Linked DNA regions of Homo sapiens: region 1 is linked to region 2. The links are contacts of gene promoters, found by promoter capture Hi-C in human tissues and cell types (Jung and others, 2019). All regions are on one chromosome and are shown on one strand. Each heading gives the region's core, a stretch centred on a gene start or on the middle of the fragment in contact. The rest is flanking DNA. Distances are from core to core; before and after follow the strand shown. Region 1 holds the start of LOC124905081 (endogenous retrovirus group K member 24 Gag polyprotein-like). Region 2 holds the start of DGCR6 (DiGeorge syndrome critical region gene 6).

Evidence for each region. Contacts are between HindIII fragments. The study calls those that stand out against the background at their distance.
Region 1: a fragment that was not itself captured here is called in contact with the fragment with the promoter of DGCR6 in region 2 in 1 of the 25 tissues and cell types used here (dorsolateral prefrontal cortex).

What each region holds. Positions count from the first base shown.
Region 1 is chr22:19,932,994-19,940,640 of GRCh38, reverse strand. The region is part of intron 1 of TXNRD2 (thioredoxin reductase 2); the gene reads left to right. It overlaps LOC124905081 (endogenous retrovirus group K member 24 Gag polyprotein-like), which reads right to left and starts at 6,974. Exons shown (of 2, transcript XM_047441689.1): 1 at 6,911-6,974; 2 at 2,652-4,802. The coding sequence starts at 3,780. The coding sequence ends at 2,815. RefSeq lists an enhancer at 1-245. The HindIII fragment of the contact is 4,369 bases long and covers 899-5,267 here.
Region 2 is chr22:18,900,530-18,907,888 of GRCh38, reverse strand. DGCR6 (DiGeorge syndrome critical region gene 6) reads right to left here and starts at 1,569. Exons shown (of 5, transcript NM_005675.6): 1 at 1,405-1,569; 2 at 1,164-1,324. The coding sequence starts at 1,514. RefSeq lists enhancers at 1,026-1,563, 1,564-2,101, 2,102-2,640, 2,758-3,615, 3,616-4,475 and a silencer at 2,989-3,172. The HindIII fragment of the contact is 41,571 bases long and covers 1-7,359 here.

The DNA of each region.
Region 1 (7,647 bases), core at 1,834-4,333, 1.0 Mb before region 2:
CAAAGGGCATTTATCATGGGGTTCAGAATCACGGATGTGAGGGGCGGTAGTGGGGACAACAGACAGAAAAGCTTCCCCTTCCCATACTCACAGTCCAGACACGGCAATAGCCAAATTCCAAATTTCTAGGTATTCTGGACTCAGAATGGGGAATATCATACGAGACTTAGGGGGATAATGCCCTTATCTTCCTATTTTAAGGGAAAGAACAAACTGAACCTTCTATGCAAAATAGGATGATGATCCTGGTCCTCCCAGTAAGAAATAAAATAAGTAGTCTCCAGGCATTCCTTTCCGCCAGAGGAGCAACTGTTTTTTAAATAGCCCTTTCGTGCCCAGTCTGTTACTAAACCATATGAGTTGTTTTTTTGGGGTTTTTTTTTTTTTTTTTTTTTTGAGACAGTGTCTTGCTCTGTCGCCCAAGCTGGAGTACAGTGGTGCGATCTCAGCTCACTGCAAGCTCCGCCTCCCGGGTTCACGCCATTCTCCTGCCTCAGCCTCCCGAGTAGCTGGGACTACAGGCATCTGCCACCACGCCTGGCTAATTTTTTTTGTATTTTTAGTAGAGACGGGATTTCACTGTATTAGCCAGGATGGTCTCAATCTCCTGACCTCATGATCCACCTGCCTTGGCCTCCCAAAGTGCTGGGATTACAGGCATGAGCCACTGCGCCCAGCCGAGTCATTTTTTAATACTACTGCATGTGAGTTAACACAATCATTCCCAAATTGAAGTTTTAGATGGGCCCTCAAAATTTTTAGGATATGGTTTTCCTACAGGTTTATATTGAAAGTATGGGGTATCTCCTATTACTCCTCTTTTTATTTGTCTTAAAGGAGAAAGGGAGAGGCCAGAGACCAAATGTCCCCATTTCCCTATAGCTAATCTCTCTGGAAGACAAGCAGCCCAGACTTGAGCTTCTAGATGGATACAACCAGGTGCATGTCCAAGGCACAGAGGAGGGTATTTATAACCCATAGTAACATTAAATGCAGTGCCTTCTCCTGGCTGAGCGGTGCAACGGTCATCTGTAGTTCCAGGCATCCACACACTATCGTTAGTATAGATTTCTGCAGGAGCATCCATCCAGGTGAGAGGTCGAATAAGTGGAGGAAAAGGCACATAAGCCCAATAAGAATAATTTTGTGTAGCAGGTAAATCAGTTTAAGGGGAAACTGGTGAGACAGAAAGTGTAAGGAAGATAATTATTAAATAAAACCTATTGTAAGTGAGATCCAGTGCTGAAGGAGGAAGAGAAGAACAGAGGGATGTTATTTTCAGGCTAATAGAAATGGTGAGATTTTTAGGTTCGTAAGGAGAAAAAGATAATTAGGAGAAGTGGGATTAGTTAGAGGGGTTTACATTGCCATTAGGGAGGATTGAACCAGACCCATTTTGATTTGGCATGCCAGTTTCTGAGGAGTCGGTACAGATCTCATCAGGTATGAGGGCAGTCTCTGACGCGAACGTCTCTTCCTCGTGGTTTTTATTGTCAGTATTCACACGAAGTTTAAGTCTCCTAGTGGGCACCCAGACGGGATTGACGATCTCCTGGTAAAACACAAGCATACCCTCTTCCCCACGTTATAATTGTTCCAGGTTCCCAGGTATTGGTTTGGGAGTTTTTCCATGACACTGGCTTGCCTTCGTTTAGGGAGAATTTTTTGCCTGTATAATGGCATTTAGCTGCAGTCAGAGTATTGTTTTTAGGAACATTTAGAAAGCTTAAACAATGCTAAATATAATTGGGAGTGGGGAGTAGTTAAATTATGCTTTTAAACCAGCCTTGTCTTCTTTTACAGTAACTTGAAGAGGTTTAGTAATTTTTTCACGTTTTGGACCGAGACCGAGTCTGGAAACAAACCCCATGTTTTCCATTATATGTTGACTGGGAGCACTGTAAAAGTTATGTGGAATATTAATTTCAGCCCCAATTTGTGCCAGCAAATCTCTGCCCCGAAGATTAATGGGGATGGGCATGATATAAGGCTGAATTGTTCCCTTTTGACCATCAGGGCCAGTGCAAGCCAAGATAAATGTGCTCTGGTGAACTTCTTCAGCTTTTCTAACACCTTCTAGTTTCATGTTAGTGGGATGTTTAAGCCAGGAGGAAGGCCATAAATTAGAGGAAATAATAGAAACATCAGCCCCAGTATCAACTAGGCCCTCAACCTTTTTTCCTTGAATGTGTATGGTGCAGGTAGGCCATTGTTTAGAAATTACATTAATCCAATAAGCGGCTTTTTCACCGCTGGAGCCCATCCCAGGGCCCCATGTCTTATCTCCTTTGTTTAAAACAATGTTAGGTAGTAAAAGTAATTGAGCAATTGACTCACTGGCCGGAATGGAAACAGGAACTTTGGCAGACACCATAAGTTTACATAAGTTTAATCTCATCAGAGGAATCAGAATTAATGAGACTAGTATGAACTATGATACCTTTAGTATCATGAGGTGGATGCCCTGCCTAACACCAGGCCCACCGAACCTTGAGGTAAAGGGCCAGTGACCCCCATGGGGACAATTAAAGGCAAAGAATTAGGTAGTAAATTTAGAGGAATGGTACTACAGAGATCGACCGCCCTGCTGCCTACTGTGGAGGTAGACAAGCATTGTACTGAGACAGAAGAAGAGGCTGGGACCCATCTGGATTGGCTGTAGGTAAATTTGTTTGTGCTGGGGGCTGCGTTGGGACTGCTTGACGCAAAAACACAACATTGGTCTGAGTCCGAGGTGTCCCATTTGATATTGGGGCCTGGGACTGGCCTTGCTTCCTGTTTCCCTGGTTCTGTGGCAAGGGATTTTCATCTATATCAGACTGAGTGGCAAGTACTTGCCCAATGTTTACCCTTACGACAACGCAGGCAAACAGTAGCAGGAGCATTTGGCCGTGTTTGTTGAGCCGGCTTGGCCGCTTTTAAGTTTTTAACAGTGTAGTTTTTTTGGGTATGACCAAGTTGGCCACAATTATAGCAGGCTCCAAGAAAAGAATCAGTCGAGCCAGTTTGGTTGCCGTGCTTCATGGCCGGTGCCCACAGAATAGCTCTGTGGGTCTCCGATCCAACGCCTTCACAAGCTTTAATATATGCAGGCAACACCTCATGATCAGGTAAATTTTGACGTAGGATGGAATGCACGGCCATTTTACACTCATGGTTCGCATTTTGAAAAGCTAACATATGAAGAAGAATACCTTGAGTGTGCTCATCAGAGACAGATTTTTCAACAGCATCTTGTAATTTAGCTAAAAAATCAAGATATAATTCATTGTGACCCTGTTTAACAATAGTAAAAGAAACAGAAGCTTGGCCTGGGGTGCGTAATTTATCCCAAGCTCTCATACACACCTTTGTTACTTGTTCCGTGGTGAGAGCATCAAAGCCTAAATGAGCAGTAGTATCAGAGTAATTATCGGAGCCTGTGAGCTGAGCCTGAGTAATTGGAATGCCATCAGCCCGATTTAGCTGAGCCTGCAGGCGGGCCTCCTCTGACCACCAGGTATGGAATTGTAAATGCTGAGATGGAGTTAGAACAGCTTTTGCCAAAAGGTCGCAGTCTATAGGAAGCAAAATGACCTCGGTACAAAGAGTCTGTAATACCGTTTTAACATATGGAGAAGTAGGAACATACTGAGTACAAGCATCCTTGAATTCTTTTAAAAAGGTAAGATTGAGCGGCGTATATCGACACACTTGTACCCCTTGAGCATTAGGAGGTTCCAGCATGACCGAATAAGCCCACGCCTCTAATCTACTTGTTTGTTTTGGCGTAATAAGCATTGCATGAAAGTTTCAAGAGCAGGCACATGAGATAGAGTCGGCATAGAAGTGACAGGAAAAGTATGTATAGATAAGAGAAACTGAGATTGACGGGGTCGGACTGGTATAAGAGTGTGAGAAAGGGGCATTGGGGGAGCAGAAGAGGCAGAAGCATACTGGTGATTACTGGCCCAGTCCTGCACAACCAGAGTGGCAGGGGTGTCCCTGCATGAAGAAGGGTACAGAGAAGCAGGTTGAGTGGATGGCAAAGTGACCGGTTGAGGGACCAAAATGATAGGAGGGTGAGGGGCTGTGGTGGATGGGGGAGGGCCTGCAGAATTACAGGTAAATTGTAGTTTGGATGGCTCCGGAGGCAAAGACTGTAAAGGTTTGGAGAGGGAAGAGTTAGCATAGATATGGTCCTGGGCTGTCTGAGTTGGGGCCGCAGGAGCTACAAGTGTCGGCTCTTCGTGAAAAGAAATAAGATCATCAGGGGGTGATGTTAAGCCAAAGTCACTGGAGTTAGATATTGAATCCTCAGTATCGTCAGGTGGGGGAGGAGTAGGCAAAGGGAGGGGCTGAGCAGATAATGAAGGCCGAGTGGGAGAGGAAAGCTGAGGAAGAGGTAGAGGGTGGCCAGATTCAGAAAACTGTGGTAACTGCAGGGTGTCACGGGATTGGTATGTCATTAGGATGGCACGTACCAAGGCCCAATCACCCCAAACAGTGACAGGAACATAATTTCCTGTTGGGACCAGTTCTCGGAATTTTGCACCAACATGATCCCATAGTTCCACATCTAACGTTCCCTTTTCAGGAAACCAAGGACAGTGTTCTTCCACTGCCCTGAATAGGGTGACCATATTTTCCATGGGAACCCGAACTCCCCCATTTTAACAGGAATTTAATATAGCAGAGATAAGCATAATGTTTAGACTCTGCGTGACCCATAGTTACCCCGGAGAATACACAGACAACTCACCAATCGTTGGGGAGCCAAACAAGCATTTCTGTGGACTGGACCGATGAACATTTCTCCGCACCTACCAAAGGGAATCGGGTTCCCACATGCACTTAGGAAAAAGAAAACCACGTTGGGCGCCAGATATTGGGGGAACCTGCCCCTAATATTTCAACGTACGTTCTTTCTATTTTCTGTAAGTGTCAGCCGGCTGAGAAATGAAGAGAAAGAGTACAAAGAGGAATTTTACAGCTGGGCTGCTGGGGGTGACATCACGTATCGGTAGGACCATGATGCCCACCTGAGCCGCAAAACCAGCAAGTTTTTATTAAGGATTTTAAAAGGGGAGGGGTTGTGCCAATAGGGAGTAGGTCACAAAGATCACATGCTTCAAAGGGCAAAAGGCAGAGCAAAGATCACATGCTTCTGAGGAAACAGGACAAGGGCAAAATCAGAACTCCTGATAAGGGTCTATGTTCAGCTGTGCACATATTGTCTTGATAAACATCTTAAACAACGGAAAACATGGTTTAAGAGCAGAGAACCAGTCTGACCACAAATTTACCAGGACGGAGTTTTTTCCCCACCCTAATAAGCCTGAGGGTACTGCAGGAGACCAGGGCGTATTTCAGTCCTTATCTCAACCGCATAAGACAGACACTCCCAGAGTGGCCGTTTACAGACCTCCCCCCAGGAATGCATTCCTTTTCCAGGGTCTTAATAGTAATATTCCTTGCTAGGAAAAGAATTTAGCGATATCTCTCCTACTTGCACGTCCATTTATAAGCTCTCTGCAAGAAGAAAAATATGGCTCTTTTTGCCTGACCCCACAGGCAGTCAGACCTTATGGTTGTCTTCGTTCCCTAAAAATCACTGTTATTCTGTTCTTTTTCAAGGTGCGCTGATTTCATATTGTTCAAACACACGTTTTACAATCAATTTCTACAGTTAACACAATTATCACAGTGGTCCTGAGGTGATGTATATTATCAGCTTATGAAGATAACAGGATTAAGAGATAAAGACAGGCATAAGAAATTATAAAAGTATTACTTGGGGGCCCAGGCGCGGTGGCTCATGCCTGTAATCCTAGCACTTTGAGAGGCCGAGGCAGCCATATCACAAGGTGAGGAGATCAAGACCATCCTGGCTAACATGGTGAAACCCTGTCTCTCCTGAAAGTACAAAAAATTAGCCAGGTGTGGTGGCGGGTGCCTGTAGTCCCAGCTACTCAGGAGGCTGAGACAGGAGAATGGTGTGAACCCAGGAGGCGGAGCTTGCAGTGAGCTGAGATTGTGCCACTGCACCCCAGCCTGGGCGACAGAGAGAGAATCTGCCTCAAAAAAAAAAAAAAGAAAAAAGTATAAAAGTATTACTTGGGAATTGATAAATGTTCATATTGAAATGAAATCTTCACTATTTATGTTCCTCTGCCACGGCTCCAGCCAGTCCCTCCATTCGGGGTTCCTGACTTCCTGCAACACAGGTGTGAGCCACTGTACCCAGACTAGGGGTGCAGTTTTTTTTTTTTTTTTTTTCTGAGACAGAGTCTCACTCTGTTAACCAGGCTGGAGTGCAGTGGTGCTATCATAGCTCACTGCAGCCTTGAACTCCTGGGTTCAACTCACCCTCCAGCCTCAGCCTCCCTAGTAGCTGGGACTGTGGGCCCTGCAGTTTCTCCTTTTAGAGTAGGAAGACCTGAACTGTCCCAGGCTTGGAGTGGGTGGGCGATGCAGCCCCTGAACAGGAGCCAGAATGACAACACCTGCTGCCAGGAAAGAGCTCTAGATAGAGCAGCCATACAGGAGGGCCCCTGAGGTGGCACCCTGAGGTGGCCAGCCTGCCTGTGGGTGCACATTTTGGGGGACCCTTCCACTTGCCCTCACTGGTGCAGTGCTGCATTCTCTTGGGCCTTGCTATGAGCTCTGGGCTCCTGCTCTTTGCTGGCCTGTACCAGGCAGTGGGTTCAAAGAGGAGCAGAAAATTAATGGACAATATGTCAGAAGGCAGAGGCAAGACAGACACTTGCTGGGGCCAAGCCCTGCAGGTGGAGAGGGTATGCCTGGCTAAAGTGGGTGAAAGGCAAGGTTATGAGGTTCTCCAGGACACTGGAGTGCACAGGTGGTGTGTCCCCAGGTAACGCCTGCCACCCAGCCCTTCCTCCCACAGAACAGCATCTGCCCTACCCACCTTTGAGGTACTTTGGGGTCCTTCCTTCCCAGCAGGCTACCCAAGCCCTTCCAAGTGCTTAAAGGCAGATTTCCTATGCTTGCAAACGACTGCCCTATGCCAGTGTTTATCAGCCCGAGAGGGCTCCTGGGTGTGCACAGGGGGCGAGCAAGCTGCCCAAGATAAGCACATCCATACAGACAGCTGCTCACCCTGCCTGATAGCAGACAGAGGGGGCACAGTGCGAGGCTGCAGGGCAGGATGACCTAACAAGGGCCCTGCTATGGCAACAAGAAGGACAGGCACCTGCCATGGAAGGTAGGGACGTTCTGAGCAAAGCTTCCGGCTACCAGGCAGCTGGAGGAGAGAGATGCTTCTCCATCAGCAGGTTCATGCTCCCCGGGGGACCTGGTGGCATTTTCTCCCTGACCAGCAGTCCTTGGTTCTCTAGACTTATATTAAAGCCATTAGAATAATTTACAACAATTTAGGCCTTTCCAGAGCCCTTGAGTTGAATTAGGAATTGAGTGTGCTTTGGACTGGCTGTTGGAACCGAGTTGTGGCTCTGTCAGTTCCCGCAGGTGCGCACACATCTCACGTGCACTCAGAGGCTGGCTGCCAGGTGAAAGAGTGGGTGGGTTTGGTTGTGGGGCAGGCTCGCTGCAGGCCATGGCCTGAGTGCCTGGATGCAGCTTCCCAAGCTTTCTCAGCTGTGAGCCAGGGCTCCTCTAGGCTCCAGCTCTTGTATCCTTTAGGAG
Region 2 (7,359 bases), core at 320-2,819:
GCAAAGAGACCAAAGTAACCAATTGTAGTACATGAACTTGGACTGGATCCTTACTTATAAAGCAACAATTTGCCACAAGTTAGGTACCATGATGTGGCCATGCACTGAAAGTCAGGAGACACCTGGAACAGTTAATTTCTCAGGGGGCTACCCTCTGCAGCTGTGTAGGAGACCGCTCTTGTTCTAGAGCACTTGCTCCCAATCCAAGGCCAAGGTTGACCCCACCACCCAGGTTGTCTGGAGGCATTCTTGGTTTTCACGACTAGGGAGGGTACCCCTGCCATCCTGCAATGCGCAAGACAGCATCTCACCATAAAGACTTACCCAGCCACAAATGTCAGCATGGCTGGGTTGAAAATCCTGGTCTCCAGGAATGCTGAAGACTCTTGGTGAATTCTATGCTGTCACATGTATGTATTTTGGGATGTCAAGAACTAGAGCAAAATGTTAACTACTGAACTTTCGGTGGAGAGCACAAGCGTATGCACTACACTGTCTTTTCAGTTTTTCCAAATGTTTGAACTTTTAAAATAAGAAGTTTGGGAAAAATAAAACAGCAAAGGTGGAAATCTGATGGTGCAGGGGGACCTGCCCTATATAATTTGCAGGAAAGGGCTCCGAAGCCCAGGAAGCATGCGGCTCAAGTGGGAAGCTCTTCTGGTTTGGGAGGGCGCCACAGGAGACAGTGCTTAGGAATTTGATGTGCAACTAGAATGAGGCCCTGCAGGCCTGAGAGGGAACTGACCCTGAAGGGCGCGCACAGCTGTCAACAGACCTCCAACTACCCAAGGGCGCTGCTCACCTGTCAACAGAACTCCAATTACCGGAGGGCAACGCAGTCAGATCTACCACCAGAGTCAGCCTGCCGGCCAACCAAGCACGGAGGCCTAGGGCCATCAGGCCTGGAAGGGGGTGGGGCACAGGGAAGCCCGAACAGGGAGTTTCTGCTAAGAAGGTGGGTGCTGCGCAACTGAAAACAAAACTCGTTGGACACATTGGTCACCAAAAAGGCGCTGTCTCAGTCTCTGCGCCCTTGATTTTGTTAATCTTAGGGACCTCTTCCGAACACTCCCAAGGAAGGAGCCGAGCTGCACAGATACCAAGAGCTGCCGGGAGGCGCCGACCCCGAGGAGGCGGCACCTCCTCCCGCTGCCCCCGCGCACCTCGATGCTCGTTCTGTAGGCGCAGGCGCTGGTTGTACAGGCTCTTTTCGGTGAGGTGCTGGATCTCCAGTAGCCCCTGCACGATTTCGAACACGGTGCCGTCGAGAAGCGCCAGGGCCAGGTCGCTCAGCGTGGTGTAGGACAAGCGCTGCTGGAATGAGCTGCGGGGTAGAGGAGCGCGGTGAGCCCCGGCGGGACACGATGCGGCCTCGGCAGGCCGCCGCCCGCCCCGCCCGCGTACCTGGGCAACTCCTTCACCAGGCTCTGTAACGCCGACAGCAGCTGGTAGTGTCGCTCCTGCTGCCGGGCACCGTCCGCCACCTCCTCCAAGGCGCCCGCGTAGCGCTCCATGGCGCGGACGCCCGCTAGCCGCCGGCTGCAGCGACGAGCGCCCCCAGCTCACGTCATCCCGACCGCGGCGCGTCCCGCCCCTTTTATGACAGTCCCTAGCGCAGCGCGCCCCGCCCGTCTTAGGACAGTCCCCGATCGCGGCGCGCCTCGCGCCTTCCCCGCCCCACCACGCGCCCCGCCCCTTGCGTCATTCAGAAGGAGACGCGCCCCGTCCCTCCGTGGTGGCTGCAAGGAGGGTTTCGCTCAGCTGAGGCTCATACCTTCCTGCTCCCCGGGCCACTTTAGAGGCGAGACTCCGTCGCCTGGATATCGCAGGACCATGTAGAATCCCACCGGCCCTTGCTGAGTCATTGCGGGCTGAGGTCCGGGCTCCGCGCCGGCGCGCCTGCGAGGTGGACTGTCCCGGTCACCGGCCTTCCCAGAGGGAGGGGTCTCGGGCCAGAGCCCACAGGACCTGGGTCTAAGGCACCATCGCGGCCGAGCAGTGGTGTTGGGGTCTGTCTGCGTCCTCTCTGCCCCCGGAGTGAGACAGACAAGACCACCCTAGAGCCTCTGGGCCAGGAGAGTTGGAACCGGAGTCCCCATCTGGGCCTGCCGTGGTCGCCCCGGGGTGCCCAGCCCCCAGCCGGAACCGCGAGCCCAGACTGCCCTCTCCCCGCTCCCCAGACCAGCTGCTGGGCCGGGGCTGGGGAGCTTCTGGTGGCTGGTGTGGGCGGCAAGCCACCCAGGCGCTGAGGCAAGAGACCGAGGACACGAGCTGTTCCAGTATAATAAAATATAAAACAAGAATAGTTATACCAGATATAGATCTTAGATATGATTATATATGAATATCAATAATCATTAGTTGGTAGCAATTACTCTTTATTCCAGTATTATAATAATCCTCACTCTATAATCATAACCTAGGAAAAACCAGGCCATACAGAGATAGGAGCTAAGGGGACACAGTGAGGGGTGACCAGAAGACAAGAGTGCGAGCCTTCTGTTATGCCCAGACAGGGCCACCAGAAGGGCTCCTTGGTCTAGCGGTGACGCCAGCGTCTGGGAAGATGCCCGTTGCCAGGTGGGCCGTGGTCTAGCGGTAGTGAAAAGTGTCAAGGAACAACACCTGCTACTTAGCAGACCGGGAAAGGGAGGCTCCTTTTCCCCGGGGGAGTTTAGAGAAGACTCCGCTCCTCCACCTCTTGTGGAGGGCCTGACATGAGTCAGGCTTGCCTGCAGTTATCCGGAGGCCTAACCATCTCCCTGTGATGCTGTGCTTCAGTGGTCCCGCTCCTAGTCTGCCTTTATTATGCCTAGTCATCCTGTACACCTGGCTCTGCCTTCTAGCTAGCAGTAGTCAATTAGTGAAAGTACTAAAAGTCTCTGATATGCAGAAATAATGGCATAAGCTATCTTTCTCTCTGTCTCCTCTCCCTCTCTGCCTCGGCTGCCAGGCAGGGAAGGGCCCCCTGTCCAGTGGACACGTGACCCACGTGACCTTGCCTATCATTGGAGATGACTCACACTCTTTACCCTGCCCCTTTTGCTTTGTATCCAATAAATAACAGCGCAGCCAGACATTCGGGGCCACTACCGGTCTCCGCGCTTTGGTGGTAGTGGTCCCCCGGGCCCAGCTGTCTTTTATCTCTTTGTCTTGTGTCTTTATTTCTACACTCTCTCGTTGCGGCACACGGGGAGAGACCCACCGACCATGTGGGGCTGGTCCCTACAGGCTGGGGCTGAACCGGCTAGGAACACGTTTTAATAGGAGGGGTTCGGGTGGAGGAATGGCTCCTGCAAAGGCCCTGCCAGAGTCAGGTCAGGTGGATGGGCGAGAGGACCAGTGTGGCCAGGCTGCGGAAGCCAGCACAGGAGACAAGGGCGGGTGCTGTGCATTACAGAGGCTGCTGGGGGCTTGTCCAAAGAGCAGCAGGGGGCACGGAAGGGCTTGGGGACGCAGACACGATCAGACTTGCATTTCACCAGGCATTCTTTAGCTGCCTGCGGTGCTAAAGAATGGGTGGCTGGGCTGTGTGAGATGACCCTGCTTTGACCAGGTTAGGAATTATGACTGGTTTCCAGAGAGAACATTGGTTAGCAGTTGGCTATGGGGGAGAGGGGGGCATTGAGCCAACTGGGGTCCCCCTGAAGTGCCAGCAAAGTCTCTGGTTTTCTCCAGGATCTGTTTCCTCAGTCCCTGGCAGGATTGGCTCCCCTGCAAGCCATGTCTTTGTGATCCCTTCCAGACAGAAACCAGGAGTGAATAAAGTGAATAATGACAACAAGCGCTCAGGCCACTGCCGTGGAGGGCGGTCCACAACCCAGAGCTGGTCATGCGCCGGGCACCCTGGCCTCCAGGTCCCTCGGAATGGCAGGAGCTGGAGGTGGGATTCGAGATTGTGGGAGCTGAGTCTGTAGTGAGTGACCAGGAGCCAGCTGGGGCTGGGCTTGGTCACTGTCACCTCCCCCGGAGGTGGTGAGTGGGATGAGTAGCTGGGTGAAGATGCCTGCCTGTTTCACCAGTGTCCCTGCCCTCAGTCCCCCAGTCCATGAAGGGTGTCTGTGTGGAGACTGGGAGCATATAGGGCAGCCCCACGTGATGATATGTCTGTGGCCAGCTGGGCAACACTGTCGCCAGCTCCGGGGTCTGCCAGGTCTGCCAGGTGGGGTGGGGGCTGTGAGCCACAGCAGCAGCAGACCAGGCCTGGGTTTGGACACCTGCTCCTCTGCCTTGTCCGGGTGCTGATGCAGGAAGGCCCCTTCTCCAACCCTTGGTGCAACATCTGACCTGAACCAGCTTCCCCAGCCCAGCAGCACTGCTCCCCTAATGTGGATGTCGACCTAAAGAAACAAACTGAACCACAGTTCATATAGAGAGTTTGTCTGGACCAAGGCTGAGAGAGCTGCCCAGGACACACCAAGTTGCCCTGGGAGTACTTCATTCAGCCTTATTACAAGCAAGTTTTTAAAGACTGAAGGGGACAAGGAGTGGGCTGATATGAAGTCAGCAGGAATTCTGACTGCTTTCCAGAGAGAACCTTAGTGACTGGCTATAAGGTGTTGGACTACAGGGGAAGAGTTATGGTGTCCAGCGTCTGGCTTTTTATGTCTACTTGGTGTCAGTCTGGAACCCACAGAGCAATTGGCTTCAAGAGGTCGTTAGCTCAAGTGGGAGTGACATGTGACTGCTGTTTCAGTCCAGTGACTCTCTGGGCCAGATAATTAAAGGGGTCTCGCATTCCTCAGATAAAAAGTTCTTTTCTTTTGCATGGACGTGAGCAGTGGGTCACTCAGGCATGGGGACTCCTGTGGGTCTTCAGGGAGGGGTCTCATCCCCCAGAGCCCTAGGGATGGGTGATATGTGTGTAGGAATGGGGGAGCTGGTGCGCAGACATGTGTGCCCCTTGTGTGCGTGCACATGGTGGACCCCATGGCTCTTTACATCAGGTGGTATCCACTGAAGGCCTTTGCTCTGTGGCCACTGTCCACCTCCACTTAGCTTCCCAAGTCCTCCAGGCTGGCTGGTGACACCTTGGGTTAGTGTGGAGTGACTGGTGTATGTTGGGGAGCTGCAGATCCCCTTTCTCTGACACAGGTGTGTCTGGGCAAACACCAAGTCTGTGGTTTGAAAGGATGGGAGCCTGTGTGTGTGTGTGTGCATGTGCATGTGTGGCAAAAGGCTTTGCTGCATGGCTTTTGTGTGGGTCTGTCTTTGAGTGTCACGTGTGCCTTTCTGTGTTTCTCTGTGAATTTTCGTGTGTCAGGTTGTGAGTCCATTGTGTGGGCAGAGAAACAGCTCTGCCGTGAGACCCTGAGCCATTGCAGGATCCCCATAGGCCACACAGAGGTGCACACAGCACCTGACCTAAGCCTGCTCCTCCCAGAACATCAGGCTGCACCCAGGCCACTGGTCACTTCCTCTGTCTCCCAAGACTGTTCCTCACTGCCTGCCTCACTGGCCCTGGTGAGGGTTCCTCACTGCCCTGCCCCTGGCCCTCACAACAGAGCTGCAGATGAGGACACCACCCAGCTGCAGTCTCAAGGGGCTCCTCTGCATTGGGTGTCCTGCAATGCATGCCCTCTGACCCCTTTTGTTTCGGTGCTGTCCTTTTTAGTGTGTGGCACCAGGATGGCAGGGAGCTGCCACCTCAGACTTCTCTTATTTTCACTCTGTGAGTAATAAGCTCTGAATGAGAGGGGCTCATTGTGTCTTTACTGTCAAATCAGTCAGGCCTTGGCCTTGGCATGTCTCGCGTGTGCTTGACAAATGTATTGCTCATGGGGTCTGGTGGAGGCACAGCACCCTTTTAGAAGACAGGGTCTGTGCAGACCAGTTACGGGTGACATTTCCTGGGCACAGCTCTTGCCTAAGTGGTGGGGGATGGGAGGAGGACTATGTGTGGAACACAGGATTATCTCAGTCATTCCATGTGTGATAGTACATGAAAGACATGAGCAGTTGTAGTGCTGTTCACTGTGCAAAAGTATCCCTTCTTCCTAACGTGGGAGGGCTGCTTTTGCAAATATGTCTGTGCTATTTCTCACTGGTCCTGCCTCTTCTGTTCTTGGAATCAAACTCAGTCCACGACAGATCCCACTACTAGCTGAATTTCTTTATTAGTCCTATCACAAATGAAATTTTGTATTAGCACCTCAGGGGATTTCTTTAATTTTGCAAAAGTATGTCATCCTAATTTATTATTTTTTTCCTAAGATCTGGCAATGAGCATCGGTTCTCTGCTTCCTATCTTACCCTGCTTACTCACAGCTGCTTCAGGTGACCTCCTTTTTAGGTTCAGAGTTATGGCTGACCTCTGCTTTAATCAAAACAGAATGTATTTTGGTTTCTTATTTTGTTTATCGCTTCTATCTTCAAATTAGAAATCCTAGAGCTCATTAGATTTACTTTTATGTTTATTTTTGAAAGAGCATCCTGCTCTGTCACCCAGGCTGGAGTGCAGTGGTACAATGACTGCTCATTGCGGCCTTGACCTCCTGGGCTCAAGTGATTCTCCTGCCTCAGCCTCCCAAGTAGCTGGGATTACAGGCACCCGCCACCACACCTGGCTAATGTTTGTATTTTTAGTAGAGTCAGGGTTTCACCATGTTGGCCAGCTGGTCTCGAACTCCTGATCTCAGGTGATCTGCCCACCTTGACCTCCCAAAGTGCTGGGATTACAGGTGTGAGCCACCATGCCCAGCCAATTTTTATGACCATGAATGGGGACAGATCTCTTAAACAGTTCACAAAGAGCCATAGTTTTAAGGGAATAAATTGATAAATTAGACTGTATTCAAATTAAGAATTTCTGTTTATTAAGAGACTAAGAAAGTGACAAGGCAAGTTGCAGAGTGGGAACAGATCTATGAACACATAGAACTGACAGAGGGCTCACATCAACAATATGTAAAGAGCTCTTAAAAATCACTAAGAGAGGTGCTCAATGGTGCCCAGGCTGGAGTGCAGTGGCGTGATCTCAGCTCGCTACAACCTCCACCTCCCAGCCGCCTGCTTTGGCCTCCCAAAATGCCGAGATTGCAGCCTCTGCCCGGCCGCCACCCCGTCTGGGAAGTGAGGAGCGTCTCTTCCTGGCCGCCTATCGTCTGGGATGTGAGGAGCCCCTCTGCCTGGCTGCCCAGTCTGGAAAGTGAGGAGTGTCTCTGCCCGGCCGCCATCCCATCTAGGAAGTGAGGAGCGCCTCTTCCCGGCCGCCATCACATCTAGGAAGTGAGGAGCATCTCTGCCCGGCCGCCCATCGTCTGAGATGTGGGGAGCGCCTCTGCCCCGCCGCCCCGTCTGGGATGTGAGGAGCGCCTCTGCCCGGTTGTCCCGTCTGAGAAGTGAGGAGACCCTCTGCCT